2 separate regions of the Homo sapiens genome follow, and region 1 is linked to region 2. The links are contacts of gene promoters, found by promoter capture Hi-C in human tissues and cell types (Jung and others, 2019). All regions are on one chromosome and are shown on one strand. Each heading gives the region's core, a stretch centred on a gene start or on the middle of the fragment in contact. The rest is flanking DNA. Distances are from core to core; before and after follow the strand shown.

Region 1 (5,073 bases), core at 1,406-3,905, 150 kb before region 2:
CGGGATTGTTGGTAGGTGAAGGAGAGGGTTAAGGAGGCCGCTTAACTCTAGAAAGGGAGGCCTGCGTGGAGGGAGGCTGGGGGCGGGGCCTGGTTCTAGGAGACACGTTCTAGGGATGGGGCTTGCGCTCTGCGGAGATGCTGGGGGTGAGGCTTGAGCTCTGGGAGGGGTTGGAGGTGGGGGTGGAGGACTAGGTGCTGAGGGAGGCTGAAAGCAAAGCCTGGGCTCTGGGAGAGAGAGATGCACGGGGCGCACCCAAGCCTGAAGCAGGGGCAGGCCCCAGACTCTAGGGAGAAGGAGGGCAAGGCCTCGGCTGGGGACAGAGCCTGGGGACAGGACCGAGTCGCTAGGAGCAAGGAGGGGGCAGAGCCTAGGCCCTAGTTGGAGGCTGGGACGACGCCTGAGCTCTGGGATAAGGAGTGGCCTATACTTAGGAGCGAGGCTCATTCTGCACCTGGGCTGGGCAGAGGGGCTGCGCATGGGCTCCGACGGCGGGGGCCTTGGCAAGGCCGGCGAAGGATATATGTGGAGCAGCTTGGCCGCCAGCTGAGAGGAGGGGATGTACCAGGGGTGCATCATGAGGAACATGCGCACCAGCTGCGGGTCCCGCACCTTCCCGGAGTCATCTGACTCCGAAGGGTCAAAGACAGGTGGCTGAGCTGGGTCCGCAGCTACCATGCCTCATCCTCACCCCGCAACCCGCCAGGTATCGGTCCTTCGGGTGCACGCTCGACCCCGCCCACCTCCTGCTTGCCCAGGACTCCGAGAGCAGGAGGCAAATTAGAGAGGAAAGGTGTGGTGGGCGAGAGATAGGCACGCCCTGAGGACTGGAGGAGGGGAGCGCCCGAGCCGCCCATCGTCCGGAGGGGAACCAGCTGGGGCGGAAGGAGCCTGGGTTCCCCGGGGTCAAGAATCCAGAGGTCATTTCCTGAGCGCTTGGGGGGAAGGGGCACCCCTTCACCAGATAAGCCGCCCCCCATTAGCCGGAAACAGCTCCCAGGCCGGAGATAGCGAGTTCCTCCGGATTCCCCGGGAGACAGATAATGCCCCTCAAGTGTCAGAGTCCGGGACCCGGCCCTCCCTTCGCCGCCGCTGGGGAAGGCTAGAGAAGGGAAACCTCATCTGTCTGAAGGGCGTGCATCTCTCTGCCCTGCGTTGCGGAGGAGGCTTTCGTTAAAGAGACTGCACGCTGCGGAGCAGGGTGGGTCCGGGTCAGGGCTGTGCCCTGGACTGTGCCTGGGAGGCAGGGACCCGGGCTCAGACTCGGGGCTAGGCTCAGGCTCCGTGTGCCCTCCCGAGCCACTCACCGAAGGCTTCGATGCACCCGCGGAGCAGCTCCTCCACCGTGCAGCCCTTGTCCAGGTCCAGGGTGCCTGCCATGGCCGCCGGCGCGGGGTGGGCTGGGCCCAGGCTGCGCTCCGGGAGCCTCCCACCGGGCTCGGACCGAACCCCTGTCCCGGGAGAGGCAGAGCGGGAGTCTGCGGAGTCGCGGGCGGGGGAGCGGCCCCGCGGGCAGAAACGGGGCGGGGCGGGCACGCCCCCTGCTGGACAGGGGCGGAGTTGTCCCCCGCGGCCACTCCCGGGGTTAAACGGTCTGGCCCGGGATGGTGCAACCCGCCAGTTGGGAAACGGACCCGCAGAGAGGCTTCCGGCCCACCCTCGGAGTCGCGGGAAGGCCGAGGGGCTTCACGAGGATGGGGACGAACCAAGATCCCAGGACTGGCTGGCGCCCAGCCCCCCGCAGGGCGCCTTCTCCTCGCGCCCTCTCCCCAGAGGCACCTGCAGCACCCCGCAGCTCGGCTCTGCGCCCCTCCCGCTTCCCTCCCTCCACAGCCTCCCTTCCCCCGCAGGGTTATTTTGGGAACCCAGAGCCTGAGGGGACCTCGGAGGAATTTCTCCCTGGTATGGGAGGTGGGGGGAGAGAACCCAGGCGTCCTGCCCGCCTCGCCCCCTCCCGGGAGCCCAGGAAGGCGAGGCGGGGCTGCGGCAGCCCCCAGGGGGCCTGCCCTAGGGGAGGCGGACTGGATGGGAGAGGAACATTCCTGGGGCGGGGGGAGCCCGCTGCGGCCAGGAGGCGTCAGCGGGAAGCCTGAGCCTGGGAACTGAGCGCTCCCAGGCCACCTCCGCAAAGGTCCCAGGGGTCCCGGCTCAGCTTGTCCACAGGCCCTCTTCCTCCCTATCCCCGGCTCCTGACCCTGGCCCCGGCCCCGCACAGGCGAACTGTGAGCGCGCACGGAGCAGGGTGTCCAGAGGGGGGCGCTCGCGCCAAGGGTGGCCGGTGGGTGCATGACACCATTAGCAACTCCGGTCACTGGCGGGGTCATACGCACCCTGGCAGGGGCAAACACTCCACACCCAAGTTATTCGTCGGAGGCCGGGGACCTAAGTGGAGGTGCAGGCGTCCGCACTTACACGCACCGGGCCACAGGCACCGGCCTCCCATCCTCCGTCTCTCACACACAATGGCACCCACACCCTGTGCACACCTGCACGAAGAAACCCTCAGGCACACATACCCAGCTCGTCCACCCCAGAATGCAAACCCGCGGACGAGGTCGCCTCCTGGACGTGCTGTTCACTTGAGCCAGGCCAGCCTTGAGTCCCGCGGCCACACAGGCGCTGACATCCTCACACGTGTGCACACACGCAAGGCAGTGCCTCTCCACGCATGTACACTCCCACACACATGCACACACCCCCATGGGTGCGCACGCCCATTCCGTCGCCCCCCTCCCATTTGCGGTGCAGGGCCCGCCCTGCGGCCCCAGCTCCCTGACTCCCCTCACTCCCAGATTTTGGCAGAGCCTTGCCCCACGGAAAGGTACCCCGGCCCTACACATACTCACTCCCCCAGGCTGGAGGACAGGGGAGCTCCTGTACGGAGTTCTCAGGCGGACTTTTCCTAAGAGCCACCCAGAGCCGTCCCCGCCTGGCTCTACCGCTTCCTCGTGTGACCTTGAGAATCACTTGGCCTCTGGGAGCCTCAATTTTCTCATCTGCCAAATGGGGGTACGCGGGGGAGGGCCCCGCTGGAAGGTGGCTGGGAAAAGCTGGGTGCACCGTGGAGGTCCTCCGCCCTCCGGGGATCCAGCGCGCCTTAGCTCTCGTGGCCGCTGCCCCCTCTCCCAGACCCGGGCCGCAGACTCCCCACCCGCTCGCCGCCCCCAGCCCGCCCGCGCCGCCCTGGGCGGGGGGGGAGTCGCTGGGGGCCGCGCCCTCCTTCGCCTGGCGCCCCGCCCGCGCTCGCCCACTCACTCTTGGGACCTGCCGCAAGGAGCCCGCACCGGCCTGGCCGACCCCACCTCCGTGCGCTCCCGCCCGCCGGCCTCGCTGCGGCTGCGGCTCCCGCCCGCTCTCCACGCCGCGGCCCCGCTCCCCGCCGCCCCGCCCCCGCCCCCGCGCCAGGCTGCCCCCTCCCCCCTCCGCCCCTGCGCGGAGCTCCGCACCGCCGGCTGCGCCACCCCCACCGGGGGCTCCCTCTCGCCCCGCACGCGGCGGTCCCTGCGGCAGCTTAACCCCTCCCCTGCCGCGCCGCCCGGGAGGCCAGGGCCGCGGGCGGGGGGCTGCGCCACTAGCTGCCCCGAGGGCGGGCGACCGGAGGCCCCGCCGCCCGGGACGCGGAGGGGGGACCGAAACGAAGAGCCCCTCCCCCAACCGCGGACGCCCCAGTGCCCCCCGCCCTGCCTGGGTGTCGGGCGGAGGAAGCCGGGAGGGGCAGGAAGCGGACTGCGGTGGGGAAGGGGCGCCCCGCCCAGCCCCCAGCTCGGGTTCCTGTTTTCGAGACAAACCGTTCCCATGGGGCTAACCCGGCCCGGGACCGGGCGTCTTCCTGCAGGCAGCGGGTGGCACAGGCCTAGTGGAGGTCGGGGGCGTGGGGACAGCTGGTCCTTGAGATAGTCTGGGGGATGGGCTAGGACAAGATGGGAATATTTTGGGGAGAGGGACCTGTGGGGAGCGAGGAATGAAATCGTGGCTATCTGGAGACGCGGCCTTGATGTCTGGGAATGGGGGCGGGGGGCCCAGTTCACACAGGAGGAACGGGGCCCCGGAAGCCTGGCTCCCCACAGGGTCGAATGGAAAGGGGCAGCCGCATGTGGCGGTGGGTTCTCCGCAGCTCGGAGACTGGAGACCTGGATGCCTGGCCAACAGGGAGGAACTTGGGAGGGGCAGCCGCAGGCGGTTGGGGTCCCCACTAGCCGGGCCTAGGAGAGCGGGTAACGGTTTCCGACCATTTGGCTTCAGACACACTCACTGTGAAACCACCGACCCCAAACCTCCCTTCCGAGGCGTGCCCCTCCCAGCCTTGGGGCGGGGGATCCAGGACCGCCCCCGCACCTCAGTCTTGGTAATGTAAGACTTAGAAACAGGACCTTTCTGTTCCTCAGTTTCCCCATAATGAGGGCCTAGACTAGGCGGTCTGCGAGTGTTCCCTGCCGTAACACTCCCCCGACTTTGGATCCAGTGTAGCCACCTGCTAAGAGACCCTTAAACGCCGCAGTAGGGCGGGGCTAAGGGCGGAGCCAAGAAGGCGCCGAGCATCCTCTGCTTCCTCCCCCTCCTGGGTCCTGCCCTCGACAGCGCGGATCCTCCGTGGTCCGGGAAGCCTCAGCCCAAGTCCCGGCTCCCAGCCCCGGTGGGCCCCACCCAGGCAGACGCCCCGCCCCCGGCCAGCGAGGCTGGCCGCTGACCTAGTATGGACACGGCACTGGGAAGAGAGGCGTGGAGGGTGACGCCAGGAAAGGGGCTGGAGAGGCCTAGGCCCCGCCCCCACGGGTCGCCCCCTCCACCTCCCATCACCGTCCCGCCGTGGGACGCACCTGCCGAGGGTGGAGGATAAGGGGGTGACTGCGCGGCTGCTGTTGAGCCCGCCAAGAGCTAAAAATATTTCCCAACAAAGAGGAGTAAGGAGGCTCCCAAGGAGAATGAATTTATTAGGGAGTGGGTGCAGTTGGTCAGACCCCATAAATAGGAGGGGACCGGGAGCCCGAGGACGGAAGGGGGCCCGTGTCCTTAGTCACGCTGGACACTGGGACATTGAGAGTGGGGAAAATGAGGGTTCCAGGAGGGGCTTAG
Region 2 (5,145 bases), core at 455-2,954:
CTGCCGCAGAACATGAGGAACAGGCTGTGAGCAGTGGCTCGCCTGGAAGGACGCTTAGGACCTCAGTGGCCTGGAAGACAGCAGGGGCCTGGGAGCTGGGTGACCTTGAGCAAGTAGCGTAACCTCTCTGAACCACTGTCCATATGTCAATCAGGACTTACGAGGCCACCCTGCACGCTGGGCTGGCCTGGTGGGAAGCATCCGCCCTGGGACCCTTGGGTCTCTCTCCGCTGTGGGGAGAGGAAGCAGCTGCTGGCCAGGGTCCCTGAGTGAGCCCAGGGCTCTGTGAGGCAGAGCTTCCTCTTGCAAAGCGTGTTCTCGTCCCTCCCAGACAGGTTCCGGTGACAGGTGCCAGTCCTGCAGAGACCCAGCAGGCATTTTGGGAGACTCCAAAGCTTCTGGAGAGAAAGGGGAGCTTTTAGAGTAGACTTGGGCCCTGCCCCCTTTGCCAGTGGTGCATACAGGCCTAGAGAGACAGAGGGGGCCGCCCAAGGTCACAGAGCAGGGCCCCAGGGCCTGTGCTGCCCCAACAACCTTCCCGAAGTGGCGTCCCCCCTTCTCAGGATGCAGTCAGGGTGGGATGGGGGATCCCTGGGCTGGAATCCTTCTGCCTGGGGGGACAGACCTGCGAAGGAAGACACCGTAGCTGGTGGCTGGCCCTCCACTCAGCCTGGCGGCCCTTCCCACAGAGGCCTGGGCGAGACCAGCCTCCTGCAGCGTGGTGTCCAAGTGCCCTGGCCTGGCAGAGACAGCGCCCGATCAGGAATCCTGGCTCCACAGCTCTGAGCGCTGATGCTAAGGCCCCCTTATCCCACAGTGGAAACCAAGGCACAGAGAGGAAGGGGCTCGTCCCGGCCACCCCATGGCTGTCCAGGTCCCTTTCTTCCTCAGGATTGGCCACCCTTCAGAGAGGTGCCTGGGTTCAGGAGCCTCCTAGGACAGGGAGGGCGGCAGGGGTCCTACCACTCAGGAAGCCTCTTACCTGAGTGCCGGGCTGGCCTTCGGGGCACAAGGAGGAAGTGGGGACACCCTGGGCCCAGGGCCTTTTGAGCCGTTGACCCAGCCCCTGGTGGTGGTTAATGATTATCCCACCACCGTCAATACTGATCACAAGTGCGGTTCGAAGGGCAGGAAGCCCTGGACTGTGCCCGGGCAGGGTGGGGCGGGTCCAGGAAGCATCAGGCTGGGCCCCATCTGCCTCTCCGGGTGGCATCAGCACCGAGTCTCCACAGCCCTGTCTCCTCCAGGGCCTCGCCCTCCTGGTCTCTTACCAGCCTGCTGCCCCAGCTGTCCGTGGGCAGCCAGGACCCCAGGGTCCCTCGGGACAAAGCTTCTGCTCTGTTCCCAGTACCCAGATCTCCCCCACTCAGAAGGGGCCACAGAGCAGGGCTGGGGGACCTTTGCTAACCCCAGAGGCCTGCGGAACCTAGCAAGGTGAGGGTTCCCTGATTCCCAACCCGAGCCTTGGTTTCCCCATGGACCCACCCACCTCTGTGCAGCGCCACTGGGAAGCAGGGCAGGGAGGAGCGCGATGGGAGCAGCTCACAAGAAACAAGATGTGTGGGGGGCAATGGGCGCTCCCTGGTCCTGTGTAAAGCTTTGTGCAGTGAGGGTTGGGATTCCGGCTGCAGCGCTGCTCCAGCACCCCTCCCCCCTCCAAGTGCTGGAGCTGGGACCCCAGATCAGAGTGGAAACCAAGGGGCCAAGGCCTGGGCCACCCCAAAAGCCCCCACTAGGGATGGTGAGAGCAACATCTAGAATGCCTCAGGCTCAGCCTTCCCCGAGTGGCCTCAAGTGACAACCAGGCAGGGTCAGCTGGGCTCCAAGGACCATCCCTCCCTCCCCTGGCAGCCCCACGTAGCTCCTGCCACATCAGGAGTGGGGCTGGAGTGGCAGCCTCCTGGGAGGGGCAAGGCAGAGCCCAGAGCCAGGGGAAGGCGTGCAGGGCTGGGTGCCTCTGGGTCCCCCTGTGCCCTGATCTGCTGGGCAAGGCCAGGAGGCATGGCGACCCCTGGTGGTGACATGGGAGGTGCTGGGTGCAGAGGTGGGATCTGGGGCGGGGCCAAGGTCAAGGCTGAGGCCAGGGTTCACAGGGACAGAGGATCTGAGAGGGGGGCTGGCGGTGGGCAGTTTATTCCACTTCATGCAGACACTGACCCACGCACTCACGGAGCTTAAAAATAATACATCGAACCACACGGATATCATCCCCTCCTCCCCCCAGACACAGAAAGACACTTGGCTGAGTGGGATGGGGTCCGAGGGTCCAAAAGCCTCCGTCCTGGGAGAAGGCAGCAGTGTGGGCCCAGGTCGGGGGAGGGGCAGTGTCCTTTCTCCCCGGAGGAAAAGTGCAGAGCCAGGGCTAAGGCCCCAAGGCAGGGAGGCCCCCCTCTCACAGCAGATTGGCAACGGGCAGGCTGGGAAGGCGTCCTTCACAGTGGCCATCCCCTGAAGGGCCAGGCCGGGCCGGGCCCGTGGGCTGCAGCTCTTGGGAGGCTCAGGAGCATGGTGGGCAGCACCCTCTGGGTGCCGGGCACCCCAGGCTCAGTCTTGGGCACTGTCCGAGCGCCACTTGAGGGCGTGGTCCTTGTGGGCGTCGGGGACAATCTGGTTGCGCATGCCCCCGAGCAGGCTGGACGTGGCCTCCGTGGCCAGGATGAGCGGCTTCACCACAGTCGGGGGCAGCTGGCGGATCACGCCCCCCACGGCGCCCGTCAGCCCCTTCTGCTCATGGCCCCGCGATGCCACGTCACAGATGGTCTGAGCTGTATCCAAGATGCCCTGTGGAAGCCAGAGGTCAGGGCGGGGTCTGTGTGAGGAGATGGGCATGGGGGACTGGGGCAGGGCGGGGGCCTGGTCACCTCTCGCACTGTGTCGTAGGCCTTGGCCACACCCTCCCGCAGGTCGGCAGGCTGCTGGCCCCTGCGCAGCCTCCGCGCAGAGCGCTTATCCTGCAGGGAGCGGGAGACGGGGGCTGCCGGGGACAGGATGTCATACACGGTCTCAGCTGTGGCCTGGGGGACATGGGAGCACTGGATGAGGACAGCTGGCTGGGGCACACGTCAGCCCCAGGCCCCCAGGACAGTCTGAGACCCCACCAGCCCTCAGCCTCCCTGCCTGTCACTGTGCTGGCCTAGGGGGTCCTGCTCAGCCTCACTCCCCACTTCCTCCCACTCTTCCTCCCCTTCCTAGGCACCTGCCACTCTGCTGAGGGAACCTAGGAACGTGGGACTCCTCAGGGGACTTTCCTAAAGTCTTCTCAACCCAAACCTCTCTTCCTGCTGACCACCACATTCAGCAGGTTCCACATGGCTGCCGCAGCTGCACGCCTGAGACTGACCGCTCCTTGCCTGGCCCCCCAGACGCCCCTGCCAGATGGTCAGAGGCCCATCCTTCCTTCTGTCTGCCAGATCCTCTGCCCAGCATCTCACCTGGCATCACTCTTTCCCACCTGACTGAACACTCCCGGGGGCTCCCTGGTGCCCATGCATCCCTCCCACCTCCCCTGGAGCCCTGCCCTCTGTCCTGTTGGGGTCTGAGCTTGCAGGTTCCAGAATGCACCATGCACCTGCACTCACCCCTTAGCCGCCTAGGACCATCGATCCCCTACAGAATTCATCTGACAACTGCCCACGAGACTGGCTCCCCAGCTTCCCTGGGGTCCTTCTGGCCTAGCGAAGCGTATGGCCTGAATGAACCAGGGCAGCCTCTGCGCCTCAGATTCTTAGTCTGCAAACACAGCCGTCCTCCACCCCCCTTTACAAGACATGCCATGAGCAGGAGACACAGTGGGCTCTGAAGGCCTGGGGGGCACTCCCGCTCCTGCATGGGAGCCCCTGTGGGCCTCGGGAGACCTGGCTTGGAGGTCCCAGGCAAGTCACTTAGCCTCTCCGTGGCTGTTTCTCTATAAAGTAGGGCTGTCATACCCAGACTGCCCACTCTGAGGAGCTTTGAGGACAGAACCAGGGAGCTGTGGTGCAGAGGGCTCCAGCTGCTCTGTCCTGCACAGCCCAGATACAGGGCACCCACTCACCTGGATAGCCTGTACCAACCGGTTGCTGAGTTCCAGGGCGGCAGAGGCTGTGGATGAGCCAAAGGAGGCAGCCCCTCGCTGCAGCCCCCGCATGAGGCGGCCATCCTTCCTGTACTGCTCAATGGGCAGCCACAGCAGGTCCCGGAACCCTTGGACTAGGGGGAAGGAGCGCTCAGAGACACCCGAGGCTGCCCTGCCCCCACCTCCTCCTCTTATTCCCAATGGCAGCTTCTAGGTTGCCCAAGGGTAAAAGCAGTTTCGAGGGCTTCCAAACCTAGACACTCACAGAGCTGGACAACCGAGTGCATGGGGCCCACGCCTCCCAGCAGGCCGGGCAGCTGGTTCTTGCGGATGTCCTGCAGCCACTCGTTGAGGGCATAGCCCAGCACCTTGTCCACACCCAGGAGCCTGGCAGGGCAGGGAGGTGAGGAGGCAGAAGGTGAGGCAGAGCCACACATGGAGGGATTGTGGGGTCAGGAGGACTCAGTACCCCTGTGGCAAGTACTGTGGGCACTCTACCCTCCCTGTGGTCCCACCCAGTCATGTGCAGAGGGACTGTGTCCTTTTTTTTTTTTTTTAGATGGAGTCTTGCTCCGTTGCCCAGGCTGGAGTGAAGTGGTGCGATCTTGGCTCACTGCAACCGCCTCCCAGGTTCAAGCAGTTCTCCTGCCTCAGCCTCCTGAGTAGCTGGGATTACATGTGTATGCCACCACGCCTGGCTAATTTTTGTATTTTTAGTAGAGACGGGGGGGTTTCACCATGTTGGTCAGGCTGGTCTCGAATGCCTGAATGTGTGAGCCATCATGCCCAGCCAACTGCGTCCTTTTTACAGAGGAGAAACTGAGGCCCTGAGAAGGGTGATGACTTGGCCAAGGCCACACAACCAGTCAGGACCAGAACAGAAGGAAGATCAGGGACCCTGGAGAGAGGCTGGGGTGCTGGGGACTCACCCGTGCCTGCAACAGAGCCGCTTTAGCTTCAGCTCGGAGCAGTTGAGTTGGGCCAGGCCGATGAGGAGGCCAGCAAAAGTGCCCTGGGAGAGGGAGGGGGTCCAGGTTTACCCAATGGGACTCAGGGAGCTAGCTAGCCCATGGGAGCCACTGGAGAGCGCC

Evidence for each region. Contacts are between HindIII fragments. The study calls those that stand out against the background at their distance.
Region 1: the fragment with the promoter of RASGRP2 here is called in contact with a fragment that was not itself captured in region 2 in 1 of the 25 tissues and cell types used here (spleen).

What each region holds. Positions count from the first base shown.
Region 1 is chr11:64,741,487-64,746,559 of GRCh38, forward strand. It overlaps RASGRP2 (RAS guanyl releasing protein 2), which reads right to left and starts at 2,656. Exons shown (of 17, transcript NM_001098671.2): 1 at 2,517-2,656; 2 at 1,308-1,451; 3 at 524-626; 4 at 1-15. The coding sequence starts at 1,380. PYGM (glycogen phosphorylase, muscle associated) reads right to left here. Exons shown (of 20, transcript NM_005609.4): 20 at 4,912-5,073. RefSeq lists silencers at 1,323-1,652, 1,963-2,012, 2,173-2,222, 3,213-3,322, 3,573-3,772 and 1 more. The HindIII fragment of the contact is 18,641 bases long and covers 1-5,073 here.
Region 2 is chr11:64,892,429-64,897,573 of GRCh38, forward strand. ATG2A (autophagy related 2A) reads right to left here. Exons shown (of 41, transcript NM_015104.3): 37 at 4,984-5,066; 38 at 4,320-4,441; 39 at 4,034-4,188; 40 at 2,862-3,014; 41 at 2,118-2,781. The coding sequence ends at 2,545. MIR194-2HG (MIR194-2 host gene) reads right to left here and starts at 1,021. Exons shown (of 3, transcript NR_133640.1): 1 at 983-1,021; 2 at 162-398. The HindIII fragment of the contact is 4,598 bases long and covers 1-4,003 here.